Linked DNA regions of Homo sapiens: regions 2, 3, 4 and 5 are each linked to region 1. Evidence: promoter capture Hi-C in 16 types of primary human blood cells and fetal thymus (Javierre and others, 2016). All regions are on one chromosome and are shown on one strand. The core of a region is centred on a gene start or on the middle of the fragment in contact, and the rest is flanking DNA. Distances in the headings are between cores, read along the strand shown.

Region 1 (2,586 bases), core at 25-2,524:
GACCGACTGAGCGAGACTCCATCTCAAAAAACAAACAAAAAGAAAAAAAGAATACATCCATGGATGGATAATGAATGAGAGGTTGTTTATATTCACAGTTAACCCTCTCATCTCCAGTAATGCAACCATCTTCTTCCTGCTTAGCCTTTTGGAGATGCTGTCCCTTTAGTGGTCAAATTCTGAAGAAATCAGGAAATAATGCATTCGACATGCCCAGCACAAGTGAAGATCAGGCAGCAGAAATGCATTCGACCTGCCACCCATCCATCAGGAGACTATTTACTCCACTACTGTAGGGGATACTGACAAATTAAATCCATACCTAGTCCAGATATCAATTCCACAATTTTTTTTTTTTTTTTTTTGAGACGGAGTTTCGCTCTTGTTGCCCAGGCCAGAGTGCAATGGTGTGATCTTGGCTCACCGCAACCTCCACCTCCCAGGTTCAAGCGATTCTCCTGCCTTAGCCTCCAGAGTAGCTGGGATTACAGGCATGTGCCACCACACCCGGCTAATTTTGTATTTTTAGTAGAGATGGGGTTTCTCCATGTTGGTCAGGCTGGTCTCAAACTCCCGACCTCAGATGGCCCACCCGCCTCGGCCTCCCAAAGTGTGTAAGCCATGGCACTCAGCCTTTTTTTTTTTTTTTTTTTTTTTTTTTGAGATGGAGGCTCTCTCTGTTGCCCAGGCTGGAGTGCAATGCCTGACCTCAGCTCACTGCAACTTCTGCCTCCCAGTTTCAAGCAATTCTCCCACCTCAGCCTCCCACGTAGCTGGGATTACAAGCACCCGCCATCACGCCCGGCTAATTTTTGTAGAGATGGGGTTTCACCATGTTGACCAGGCTGGTCTTGAACTCCTGACCTCAGGTGATCCACCCACCTCGGCCTCCCAAGGTTGAGATTACAGGCGTGAGCCACTGTGCCTGGCCCACATTTTTTAAAAAAGGGGCAACTGCAGTGTAGTAGAACAAAGTTGTGACCAATGCTAGGATACTCTGTTCATTTCCTGACCCAGCCATGAATACACTGGAATAACTCATGCAAAATGCCAGCTCGCTGGCCCCCCGTTTCCCCACCCAACAAATGAAGGGGCTCTTACAGGTTCCTTTTTGTCCTGAAATTCATCACCAATGCAAATTTCTTAAAAATCCTTTGTCTGGCAGTCCATGCCTGTCCTTCAGCATTTCCCAGATCTGACCCTCAGGACTCACCAAGACAGAAGAGGGCGGTCGGGGATGGAGACATGGTTCCTCAGCCCTGTCCTGAGCTCTGTGGCCAGGGAGGGAAGTGGTGGGAGCCTGGGGCACAGGCTCAGGATGTGATGAGGATGAAGAATGCTCTCCTCCCTTCCTCCACCAGCCCCGGCCTTTCCTAATTGAGACTCATCGAGCCGTAGCCGGCTCCTCAGTACAGTGACTTGCACACAAGCTCCAAGGAGCCGCGCTTATCTCCTCTGGCCAGCCTGGCGTTGCACCGTTTGTCCGCCTGCTGGGGCCTGGTCTGTGTTCCCGTGCTCCCATAAACTCCCTGATGTCACTAGGAAAATACGCATCAAAACCACAGTGAGATATGACTTCACACCTTCTGGAATGGCTGTATTTTTTTTTTTTCTTTTGAGACAAAGTCTCGTTCTTTTTGCCCAGGTTGGAGTGCAGTGGCGCCATCTCGGCCCACTACAACCTCCACCTCCCAGGTTCAAGCGATTCTCCTGCCTCAGCCTCCCAAGTGGCTGGGATTATAGGTATGTACCACACCAGGCTAATTTTTGTATTTTTAGTAGAGATGGGGTTTCACTGTGTTGGCCAGGCTGGTCTTGAACTCCTGACCTCAGTTGATCCACCTGCCTCGGTCTCCCAAAGTGCTGGGATTACAGGCATGAGCCACTGCACCCGACCGGCTATAATTTTTTTTAATGGAAAACAGCAGATATTGGTGAGTATGCAGAGAAATTGAACTGCGCGTGCATTGCTGGCAGGGACGTAACATGGCGCCCCTGCTGTGGAAAACAGTTCCAGCAGCTCCTCCAGAAGTTAAACGTGGGATTGCCATAAAATCCAGCAATTCCACTTCGGGGTACACACCTAAAAGAACTGAAAACAGGGTCTCTAACATATTTGTACACAGTGTTCATAGCAGCTTTATTCACAATAGCCAAAAGGTGAAACCACCCACATGTCCATCAACAACAATGGATAAACAACATGTGGTATATACACACAAGGTAATATCAACCAGCCTTAACTAAAAGAATAAAAATCAGCCAGGCACAGTGGCTCACGCCTGTAATCCCAGCACTTTGGGAGGCCGAGGCGGGCGGATCACCTGAGGTCAGGAGTCCGAGACCAGCCTGGTTAACATGGTGAAACCCCATCTCTACTAAAAATACAAAAATTAGCTGGGCGTTAAATTAGCCGGGCATGGTGGCAGGTGCCTGTAATCCCAGCTACTTGGGAGACGGAGGCATGAGAATCGCTTGAACCTGGGAGGCAGAGATTGCGGTAAGCCGAGATCGCACCACTGCACTCCAGCCTGGGCGGCAGAGTGAGACTGTCTCAAAAATAAAAATAAGGCCGGGCGTGGTGGC
Region 2 (2,586 bases), core at 34-2,533, 460 kb before region 1:
TCCTCCTGGACTGTGGAGCCCAGCACCAGGATCCTCTCCCGTCCCCACCCTCCTGTCTGAACTGGTCTGGAAATTCACCATGGCTGAGCCTCCCATGTCCTGGGCACCACTGACCCCCACAGCCACTGTGATGAGTGGGGTTCACGACAGCAGGCTCAGAGGTGACATTCATGTCCAAAGTCACATAAACCCTGGATGATAATCAGGAATTAAATACAAATCAGCTCACCTTCCCCAGAATCAGATTACAGACCTAACAAATTCTTCTGAAAACTCTGAACATGGACGGAGGTGCCGAGGGAAGGCCAAGGACGCAAGGGACACTGAGGGGGCGGGACCGACTCAGAGCCTCATTCCCGGGGTGGGGGTGGGTGATGTTGCAACAAAGAGAAAAGGGGAAGTACAGGAGAGGGACGGTTTGGTAGGAAGGAAACACACACTCTCAAGACAGAACAAATATGTTTTATTATAGTTAATCCCTGCATTTCCCCTTTTGAGACAGGGTCTCACTCTGTCACTGAGGCTGGAATGCTAAGGGGTGATCATAGCTCCCTGCAGCCTCCGCCTCCCAGGCCGAAGTATTCCTCCCACCTCAGCCTCCTGAGTAGCTGGGACTAGAGATGTGAGCTGCCATGCCTGGCTAATTTTTTGCTTTTTTTATACAGACAAGGTCTTGCTATGTGGCCCAGGGTAATCTGAAGCTCCTGGCCTCTAGCCTTCACCCACCTCAGCCTCCTGAAGTGCTGGGATTCCAGGCATGAGCCACCATGGTAGACCCTGCATTACTCCTCTGTGCTCACTGCCACACGCAGCTCAACCTGAGCTACACAGCCAGGTGTCAGGTGCGTCTCTGCTGATCTGAGTCTAACTGCAGCATGGACCTGGGTTTTCCCTGAAGCATCTCCAGGGCTGGAGGGACGACCGCCATGGTAAGGACCCCGCAACGCTGAGCTGATGGACGGGCTGAAGGAGGGAGGGAGACCCCATGGGGAAGCTCTGAGAAGGAAGAGGAAGCCTCTGCTCACCCTCATCTGGAAGGGCAGACGCAGGAGGGCACCAGTTCTATTTGCTGCTACATCCCAGGTCTCAAGGAGATGAGGATAAACCAGACAGACAGTGGCTGGGGGGCAGGAAAGACCCCATTACAGTCTGAAATGTCTGCAGAGGGCCTGGTGCCTGCCCCCACCTCAGCCCTAAAGGTATGACAGCCAGGCTCCTGAGAGGGCAGTTGCACTTCCTGTGTGGTTGCACATAACAAAACCCCATGACAAGAAGGATCCAGCCTCCGAGTGTCCACACCCTGTGCGTCTCTCTGTCCTGCCAGCACTGAGGGCTCATCCATCCGCAGAGCAGGGCAGTGGGAGGAGACGCCATGACCCCCATCCTCACGGTCCTGATCTGTCTCGGTGAGATTTGAAGAGGGAGGGGAGCTTCTAACCTAGGAGGGACCTCACCCCACAGCCAAACTCTGGTCCCTAAGGAGACCCCAGGGGCTCACAAAGATCCCAGGGAGGGGAGGACCTGCCCAGGCTTCAGGGGAAAAATCCCTCACAGGGAACTCTCTTCCAGGGCTGAGTCTGGGCCCCAGGACCCACGTGCAGGCAGGTGAGTCTGTTCCCAGCTGTCCCAGGTCCCTCCTCCTCACTAGGGACAAGGGGCCACCCCCGTGCAGCTGGGGATGGGGAATAGCAGTTCTGGGCTGACTGATGGGGGTGTCTGGAGGGTCCTGCAGCTGAGAGCTGAGATCTGTTGGGTGGGAAATGACTTAGAATCCGACCTCTGATTTCCTTCCAGGGCACCTCCCCAAGCCCACCCTCTGGGCTGAGCCAGGCTCTGTGATCATCCAGGGAAGTCCTGTGACCCTCAGGTGTCAGGGGAGCCTTCAGGCTGAGGAGTACCATCTATATAGGGAAAACAAATCAGCATCCTGGGTTAGACGGATACAAGAGCCTGGGAAGAATGGCCAGTTCCCCATCCCATCCATCACCTGGGAACACGCAGGGCGGTATCACTGTCAGTACTACAGCCACAATCACTCATCAGAGTACAGTGACCCCCTGGAGCTGGTGGTGACAGGTGAGAGGACACTCAGGAGTCCCAGCCCCAGGCTCTGCCCTCAGGAAGGGGGTCGGCTCTCAGGGGCATCTCCGCTCTCACAGCTCAACCCTGGGGATGATGTGGGAGGTGGGAGCCCCATTTAACACAGTGCCTCCTTCTCTCCTAGGAGCCTACAGCAAACCCACCCTCTCAGCTCTGCCCAGCCCTGTGGTGACCTCAGGAGGGAACGTGACCCTCCAGTGTGTCTCACAGGTGGCATTTGACGGCTTCATTCTGTGTAAGGAAGGAGAAGATGAACACCCACAACGCCTGAACTCCCATTCCCATGCCCGTGGGTGGTCCTGGGCCATCTTCTCCGTGGGCCCCGTGAGCCCGAGTCGCAGGTGGTCGTACAGGTGCTATGCTTATGACTCGAACTCTCCCTATGTGTGGTCTCTACCCAGTGATCTCCTGGAGCTCCTGGTCCCAGGTGAGAAATTCACAGAATTGCTTGGAGTTCCCTGAGTCTCCCTGAGTCTCCAGGCAGGT
Region 3 (2,586 bases), core at 29-2,528, 390 kb before region 1:
TAAGAGTTGGATTCATTTCACTTAGCATAATGTCATTTGGGTCCAATCCTGCTATCACAAATGATCTGATTTTCTTCTTTTTCAAGACTGAATAAAACTTTATATTTATTATACTATGTTATCTTAATCCATTCCTCCATCAATGGGCATTTATGTCATTTATTTACCTCGGCTATTGTGAATACTGGTGCAGTGAATTCATCAGTGTGGATATATCTCTTCAAGATCTTGATTTGAGTTCTTTTGGATAATTATCCGGAAGTTGAAATCTGGTGTCTTATAGTTCAATTTTTAACATTTTGAGGAAATGTGATACCGTTTCTATAATGGATGGATCGGTTTCTGTTAACTTAAATCAGGGTATTGTCTTTCTCACTCAGACCGCTGCTGGAATCCTTGGAAATTCTTCACTCCTTTACTTTTTTAGCTTTACTTTTATCACTTCACAGATATTGAGACCCAGAGACCTGATTCTCAGCCAGCTGGTCTTAGCCAACAACCTGGTTCTTTTCTCTAAACGAATCCCCCAGACAATGGCAGCTTTTGGAATGAAATCCTTCCTGGACGAGGCTGGATGAAACTTGTCTTCTATCTATACACAGAGTGGCCAGAGGGGTTTCCCTCAGCACCGCCTGTCTCCCCAGTGGCTTCCAGGCCATGAAGCTTCAACCTCAGTATCTCTAGGAGGATGGAACTCCGAATTAGGTCCACAAAGTGCATTGTTTTCTGCTGCCCCCTCTGCTGGATCTTGCAAATTGTGGCATATACCCATATTGCAATGCATGTAACTGGCCCAATGAAGAGCAAAAACGTGAGTATGGAATAAATGTATAGGTACTCTCCTCACCCATTCTAGGATGATTGCTATTCTTAGCAAATGCAGTCATTTTCTCCCTTGTGGATGGTATGTCTTTGGCCCTCATGGACTACACCAGCAGCTCCATGATCCTCTTCTTATATAGACACAAGCAGACAGTCCAATGCATTCGCAGCCACGGCCTCTCCCCCTGAAAATCTCATGAAACTAGAGCCACACACACCATCCTCGTCCTGGTGAGCATGTTTGTCTCCTCTCATGGTCTAGCTGGTATTTTATCACTGTGGGTAACCTGGATTCAGAACCCAAGCCATTGGCTGAGAAGCATCTCTTTCCTGGTGTCTGCAGGATTCCCGACATTCAGCCCCTTTGGGTTCATTGTCAGTGATGCCCGCGTCTCACAGTTCTGCACTGTCTGCTGGACAAGGAAGACAAATGCTCCAAGTGTGGTCTCTGGGCTCTAAGTTCCCTCTAGACAATTGCGTCCTTTATTTAATCACTTCTCCCCACAATATCTGTTGGATCATACATTATGCCAGTTAATACGCAAGGACTTTGGGACTCAGTATTGAATAAAAATGATAATAACCATAGCCTCATATTGCTTCTTAGGCTCTCAAAAAATGAACGCAGTGTAAAAATTACCCAGATGTATGTCAGTTCCTCAGAAGATTAAACACAGAATTACCATATGACCCGGCAATTTCTGGGAAAATTAAAGCAAGGATTTAAAAGGATGCTCATATACTCATGTTCATAACAGCGTTATTCACATTAACAAAAAAGTAGAAAAAACCCAAAGATGGATAAATGGATAAACAAATGTTATAGAAACTAGGAAATACTGTTCAGTCTCTCAAAGAAATGAAATTGTGACTGACATACACTATAATATGGAGAGCCTTGAAGATATTATGCTAAGTGAAATAAGCCAGTCTCATAAAGGACAAATATTGCAAATATTGCTAAGATTCTATCTATATGAGCTACCTGTCAAACTCACAGACTCAGGAAGTAGAATCACGGTTAACAGAGGCTTGGGGGCCTGGAAACTGAGAGTTGGTGTTTACTGAATATAAAGCTTCAATTGGAAAGATAAAATACTTTGGGGATGGTGATGGCGATGGTTGCATAGCAATGTCAAACCACTTCACAATACTGCACTGTAGAGTTAGAAAGAGTAAATATGGTAAATTTTATTTCATTTGTTTTTTTTTTTACTATAATTTAAAATGAGAAAGAGTAGTAAAAACACACAAAAGAGAGGAGCTAACAGATAAAAAGTGCACTAAGTTAGCCAAGCCAGAGCTTTAAGAACCATTATCACTTCTCTCTCTCTTTCACCCCACAATCAACATTAATCAGGTCCAACCATGTGTTCTGCCTTCTTAGCACTGCTCACGTGTGTCCCCTCCTCTCTTATTTCCATGCACTCTGGCCCAGCTGGGCTTCTTCTCTCTTTGCCTGTGATTTGCTCTGTTGTCCTCCCTGGCTCAGACGTGCAGTCCCAGTCTCTCCTGATGCTTTGTCCCCACATTGAGGGCACTGCTGTTTCCCCACAGGCCACTCCTTTTTTTTTTTTTTTCTTGAGACAGAGTCTTACTCTGTCACCTAGGCTGGAGTGCAATGGCACGATCTCGGCTCACTGCAACCTCCACCTCCCAGGTTCAAGTGATTCTCCTGCCTCAGCCTCCTGAGTAGCTGGGATTACAGGTATACACCACCACACCCAGATAATTTTTTGTATTTTTTTTAGAGACAGGGTTTCA
Region 4 (2,586 bases), core at 24-2,523, 370 kb before region 1:
ACTCAGCCCTCAGAGGGGAGGAGGACAACAGGGGCCCTCCCAGGCATGCCCATGCTCTTCTCCCTCACCTAGGGTCCAGAAGGTGCCAGGTGGACAGAGAAATGGTCCTTGGGAAGCTGCAGGGCAGATATAGGGAGAGGTTCAATTTGATGTGGAGACCCAAGGGCAACCCCAGACTCTCACCCTCCTCTTGTCCTTCTACCCAGGATCCTTGGAGGGTCCCAGGCCCTCACCCACAAGGTCCGTCTCAACAGCTGGTGAGTCTCAGAGGCCTCTGTCCAGAGAGTTTCCAAAGCCCGAGGCCTGTCTCAAGACATGCTCAGTGGATCTAAGTCCTCGTTCCAATTCTCAGCTGGGCTTGCTTCCACGGGTGTGGGAGTCGGGCAGCGACTTGGGAGGCACCACAGGCTCCCAAGGCCCTGAGGCTGGGCTGGTGAGGGGTGAGGGGGTCAAGGCTGAAGGAGATGTTGCGGGGAGAAGCCGAGCTGATGTGGGGAGCAGGGCAGCCCCAGCCCTCACATCCCTGTTCTAACCCAGCAGGCCCTGAGGACCAGCCCCTCATGCCTACAGGGTCAGTCCCCCACAGTGGTGAGTGAGGGGCTCTGAGTGGGAGGTGGGCAGGGTCTAGGGGAGCCAAGGGTGGGTTCTGTCCTAGGTTAAGGCTCCTCTGGAGGTGGTGATGTGGACAGGCCCCTCCCCTGCATGGGCCTCAGTTTCTCCAAGTGTAAAGGAGAGAGGCCTGCGGGTGGGAAAGTTCCTTTCAGCTCTGACTCCCAGCTGTGCCCTCCTGGGAGAGGAGGCCTCCCAGGGAACCTCCCAGACCCGATTCCGCAGGGGCCTGTCCGGTCCCACCTGCAGCAGAGACGGTGACCTGGGGCAGGGGAGGGGAGCAGGGCGGTGGTTCAAGACAGTCAGGCTCTTTCCCTGCAACTCTGGGGCTTGGCTCTGGTGCAGGAACAAGGGCTGCAGCTCAGACTCCCGGGTTTCCTTCCCAGCTCTGCCGCTTCCTGGCTGGAGGGGTCTGGGGCAGGCGATTCCCCTCTCTGAGCCTCAGTTTGTGCATCTGTGAAATGGGTGGAGAGAGGGTGGCAATCTCAGGTTGCACAACTGCTGTGAGGGTTGGAGGTAATGAAAGAAAGACCCAGCACACACAGTAGGTGCACACACAGTAGGTGTGCACATCAATGACATCATCCCCATTCCTGATGTCATCACGCCCAAGGTCTGAGAAGGCACTGGGAGGTACTGATCGGGGTCTTGGTGGTCTCCATCCTGCTTCTCTCCCTCCTCCTCTTCCTCCTCCTCCAACACTGGCGTCAGGGAAAACACAGGACATTGGGTAAGTAGGAAATTGGGGGACCCGTGGGCTGATGGAGGGTGGGCTCAGGGCACCAGCCAAAGGGACTCCAGATAGGAGAGGTCATCTTAGAAACTCTGCTCCAGAAATTCCCAGTGAGAAAATCTAGAAAGAAGAAAATGAATGAGGGAGTAATGGAAGTGCTTTATTCTTTCGGTTTTTCTAAACTTAGAAAGTATTTAAAACATCCTTGCAAGTGTATTTTCAGGTTTCCTTTCCTCTTGACTTGCATGTGCAAGGCAGGTGGTTCTAACGTTCCCAGAGCTGAGACTCTGTCCATCTTCCCCCAGCCCAGAGACAGGCTGATTTCCAACGTCCTCCAGGGGCTGCCGAGCCAGAGCCCAAGGACGGGGGCCTACAGAGGAGGTAATTCTGCCCAAAGACCTCAGACTCCCACCCATCCCAACAGCCACCTCACTGTCCCCTTACACTCCCGTATCCTCCCCCAGGTCCAGCCCAGCTGCTGACGTCCAGGGAGAAAACTTCTGTGAGTGAGAGGCAGAGAAGGTGCACCTGGGGTGGAGCTGGGGGTCCCAAAATTTCAATAGCAATGGGGGCAGGAGCACAGGCTAGGATTGGTCAGGGACTCAGGGAGAAGTGGTCTGAACCCACATTGTGGGACCTCGGGGACATCACAGCCCCTCCCTGCGTTGCAGTGGCACTAATGGGAACAGGGCAGGGACCAGCAGGAATGAGAGGTCCCAGGGAACCTTCCCAGGAGATGAACCCCTTGCTCTACCCCAGCAGGTGCTGCCGTGAAGAACACACAGCCTGAGGACGGGGTGGAAATGGACACTCGGGTGAGAACCCGCCCCTGTCCCCGGCACCAAAGGCCTCCTGGTGCCAGATCTAATCCTGCAGGACTTCTCTGTCCTCCTTCCCCCGGCTCTCAGCATCGTCACGGTGGACCCCTCCTTGTCCAGCACGCTGCCTCCTGCCTGCTGGGACCTCACTCTCTCCTGCTGTCCTGGGACCTCATGGGCCTCCTCCCGGGTCCCCTTCCTGCTCCTCATCCTCTGTTTGGCCATCTGGTTGTTAGAGAGCTCCCCAGGCCTCAGGAGGATGACGAATAAATGAACCACTCCAGTCCCCTGGGCTCCCCTTCATTCATTCATCTAGTGAGTGTTCCCAGGGAGCTCACTGTGGATGGGGCTCCCCATGGGAGCTGCAGACACAGCAGGGAGCAAAGCCGCCCCCGCCTCCTGAGCTCACCTCGTGGTGGGAGACAA
Region 5 (2,586 bases), core at 65-2,564, 310 kb before region 1:
TCGAGGAAAAACATAAAATGGCAAGCAAATATATACGTGCATATGTACGTATATTCATAAATGACAAACAGGACAGAAAAATCAGTGACATCAATTTTGTTCCTTAGAAGAAACAGGAAAATTGACCCCAAAAAACTTTCCAGGCCACATTTGGTCATGATGGAAATATTTTGGCACTTCCTGGTTAAGCTCAACACCAACTTGCACCCAAAACCAATAATTTCATTCCTAGGTAAATATGTCTAATTAATTCAGCATATGTATGCAAGGGATCACACAGAAACACGATTATCAAGGCCCGAGTTATAAAAGAGAAAATCCGGAAACAACACAAATGTCCATGATAAAAAGAGTGGATAATTACATGTTGATAAAGTTATGTATGGACTATTAAACTGCAATCCAAAAGAATAAAATAGAACTATAAAATTCAATATGTATATGGTGTCATAGAAACACAAATGTGAGAAAAAGAAAGAAAAATACAAAATTTATATTTTTTAAAATTTGAAACAACTATATATGTGAGTGCTTAGGGTGTGTGTGTGTGTGTGTGTGTATAACCATATGTATATAAACGCACACATACGCACACATATAGAATGTCCCGGCCAGGCATGGTGGCTCACACCTGTAATCTCAGCACTTTGGGAGGCTGAAGTAGACAGATCACTTGAGGTTAGGAGTTCAAGACCAGCCTGGCCAACATGGAGAAACCTCCTCTCTACTAAAAGTACAAAAATTAGGTGGGCGTGATGGTGGGTGCCTGTAAATCCAGCTACTTAGGAGGCTGAGGCACGAGAATTGCGTGAACCTGGGAGGTGGAGGCTGCAATGAGCCGAGGTCTCACCACTGCATTCCAAACTGGGTGACGAAGTGAGATTGCGTCTCAAAAAAAAAAAAAGTTCTAAAAGTTGTGACTTGGGTGTGGCAGATTGTGACATACTGCCAGCTGCTAGAAATGCTGGGGCAGGAGGATTGCTTGAACTCTGAAGTCAAAGAACAGCCTGGGGAAAATAGCACATGAAGAAGAGTTTGAATCTCAGATAAAAACAACAAAAATACATCAAAAGTCTTTAATGTAAGCCAAGCATTCAGTCATCTCCTGTATGAGAGATTGGATCTGAGACGTGTTTTGAGTTGGTTATAGTGAAGGATGCAAGGTGTCAATTCTAGTTGGAACAATTTCCAGGAAGCCATGTTCCGCTCTTGACCAAACAGCCACTGGGCCTCATGCAAGGTAGAAATAGCCTGCATACGTCATCCTCCCATGATGTGGTCAGCATGTAAACTGCATGAGCCCCTCACAACATCCTGTGTGCTGCTGAACTGAGCTGGGGCGCAGCCGCCTGTCTGCACCGGCAGCACCATGTCGCTCATGGTCGTCAGCATGGCGTGTGTTGGTGAGTCCTGGAAGGGAATCGAGGGAGGGAGCGCTGGGGTGGAGATCTGGGCCTGGAGTGGAGATCTGGGCCTGGAGTGGAGATATGGGCCTGGAGTGGAGATATAGGCCTGGAGTGGAGATATGGGCCTGGGGTGGAGATATGGGCCTGGAGTGGAGATATGGGCCTGGAACTGTAGATATGGGCCTGAAGTAGAGATATGGGCCTGGAGTAGAGATATGGGCCTGGAACTGTAGATATGGGCCTGGAGTGGAGATATTGGCTTGGAGTGCAGATATGGACCTGGAATTGAGATACGGGCCTGGAGGTGGAGATATGGGCCTAGAGTGGAGATATGGGCCTGGAGGTGGAGATATGGGCCTGGAACTGTAGATATGGGCCTGGAGTAGAGATACGGGCCTGGAGTGGAGATGTTGGCTTGGAGTGCAGATATGGGCCTGGAATGGAGACACGGGCCTGGAGGTGGAGATACAGGCCTGGAGGTGGAGATATGGGCCTGGAGTGTAGATATGGGCCTGGAGTAGAGATATAGGACGGAGGTGGAGATATAGGCCTGGAGTGGAGATATGGGCCTGGAGTAGAGATATAGGACGGAGGTGGAGATATAGGCCTGGAGTGGAGATATGGGCCTAGAGGTGGAGATATGGGCCTGGAGTGGAGATATGGGCCTGGAGGTGATGTACAGATGGATCATCCATCATGATCTTTCTTTCCAGGGTTCTTCTTGCTGGAGGGGCCCTGGCCACATGTGGGTGAGTCCTTCCCCCAAACCTTAGGTTGTCATCTCCCCACATAAGATGATGCTCCTGAAACGGGAGGCAGGCGACACAGGGGGTTGACTGATGGGCTGACCATGGGAAGCCATGTGGGAATCTCTCATGAACTAGGAAAAGGAAGCCAGGGGAAGCTTCGCCACAGTTCTGTCCTAGCCCTCCCCGGCCTTTCTTTCCCTTGGCTGAGTCTGTGGGGACCCAGGGGGAGACTGAAGTGCTCAAAGGAGTGGTGTGCAGGGAGGAAGTGGTGTCACCGGCAGAGGAAGGGAGAGAAGCAGTGCAAGGAACAACAGGCCTCTGAGGACAAGAGCATAACTCACACCCTCCAGCGTTTCCATGACGGTAGGGGCTGCAATGTGGCTGCTGTCATTCTACCTAAGAGGTGGGGGAACCACAGTCATGACCCTGAC

Evidence for each region. Contacts are between HindIII fragments. The CHiCAGO score rates a contact against its expected background, and 5 or more counts as called.
Region 2: the fragment with the promoter of LILRA2 here is called in contact with the fragment with the promoter of GP6 in region 1 in 4 of 17 cell types (monocytes, total B cells, erythroblasts and 1 more); the score reaches 11.9 in monocytes.
Region 3: a fragment that was not itself captured here is called in contact with the fragment with the promoter of GP6 in region 1 in 1 of 17 cell types (M1 macrophages); the score reaches 5.8 in M1 macrophages.
Region 4: a fragment that was not itself captured here is called in contact with the fragment with the promoter of GP6 in region 1 in 1 of 17 cell types (M2 macrophages); the score reaches 6.5 in M2 macrophages.
Region 5: a contact is called between the fragment with the promoter of KIR3DL3 here and the fragment with the promoter of GP6 in region 1, in 4 of 17 cell types (M1 macrophages, monocytes, M0 macrophages and 1 more). The highest score is 6.7, in M1 macrophages.

The regions. Positions count from the first base shown.
Region 1 is chr19:55,036,990-55,039,575 of GRCh38, forward strand. GP6 (glycoprotein VI platelet) reads right to left here and starts at 1,275. Exons shown (of 8, transcript NM_016363.5): 1 at 1,214-1,275. The coding sequence starts at 1,247. The region is part of intron 2 of GP6-AS1 (GP6 antisense RNA 1); the gene reads left to right. It also overlaps a transcript of RDH13 not described here. The HindIII fragment of the contact is 26,016 bases long and covers 1-2,586 here.
Region 2 is chr19:54,572,507-54,575,092 of GRCh38, forward strand. It overlaps LILRA2 (leukocyte immunoglobulin like receptor A2), which reads left to right and starts at 1,284. Exons shown (of 8, transcript NM_001130917.3): 1 at 1,284-1,406; 2 at 1,570-1,605; 3 at 1,795-2,076; 4 at 2,225-2,527. The coding sequence starts at 1,373. It overlaps LOC107985347 (a long non-coding RNA gene), which reads right to left and starts at 322. Exons shown (of 2, transcript XR_002958419.2): 1 at 230-322. The HindIII fragment of the contact is 11,294 bases long and covers 1-2,586 here.
Region 3 is chr19:54,647,585-54,650,170 of GRCh38, forward strand. It overlaps the pseudogene VN1R105P. Among named protein-coding and RNA genes, the nearest start is that of MIR8061, 3.6 kb to the left of the region's middle. The HindIII fragment of the contact is 1,235 bases long and covers 662-1,896 here.
Region 4 is chr19:54,664,593-54,667,178 of GRCh38, forward strand. It overlaps LILRB4 (leukocyte immunoglobulin like receptor B4), which reads left to right. Exons shown (of 12, transcript NM_001278426.4): 5 at 207-257; 6 at 538-588; 7 at 1,223-1,339; 8 at 1,648-1,723; 9 at 1,807-1,844; 10 at 2,105-2,157. Among named protein-coding and RNA genes, the nearest start is that of LILRB4, 2.9 kb to the left of the region's middle. The HindIII fragment of the contact is 6,500 bases long and covers 1-2,586 here.
Region 5 is chr19:54,723,128-54,725,713 of GRCh38, forward strand. KIR3DL3 (killer cell immunoglobulin like receptor, three Ig domains and long cytoplasmic tail 3) reads left to right here and starts at 1,315. Exons shown (of 8, transcript NM_153443.5): 1 at 1,315-1,403; 2 at 2,120-2,155. The coding sequence starts at 1,370. The HindIII fragment of the contact is 6,556 bases long and covers 1-2,308 here.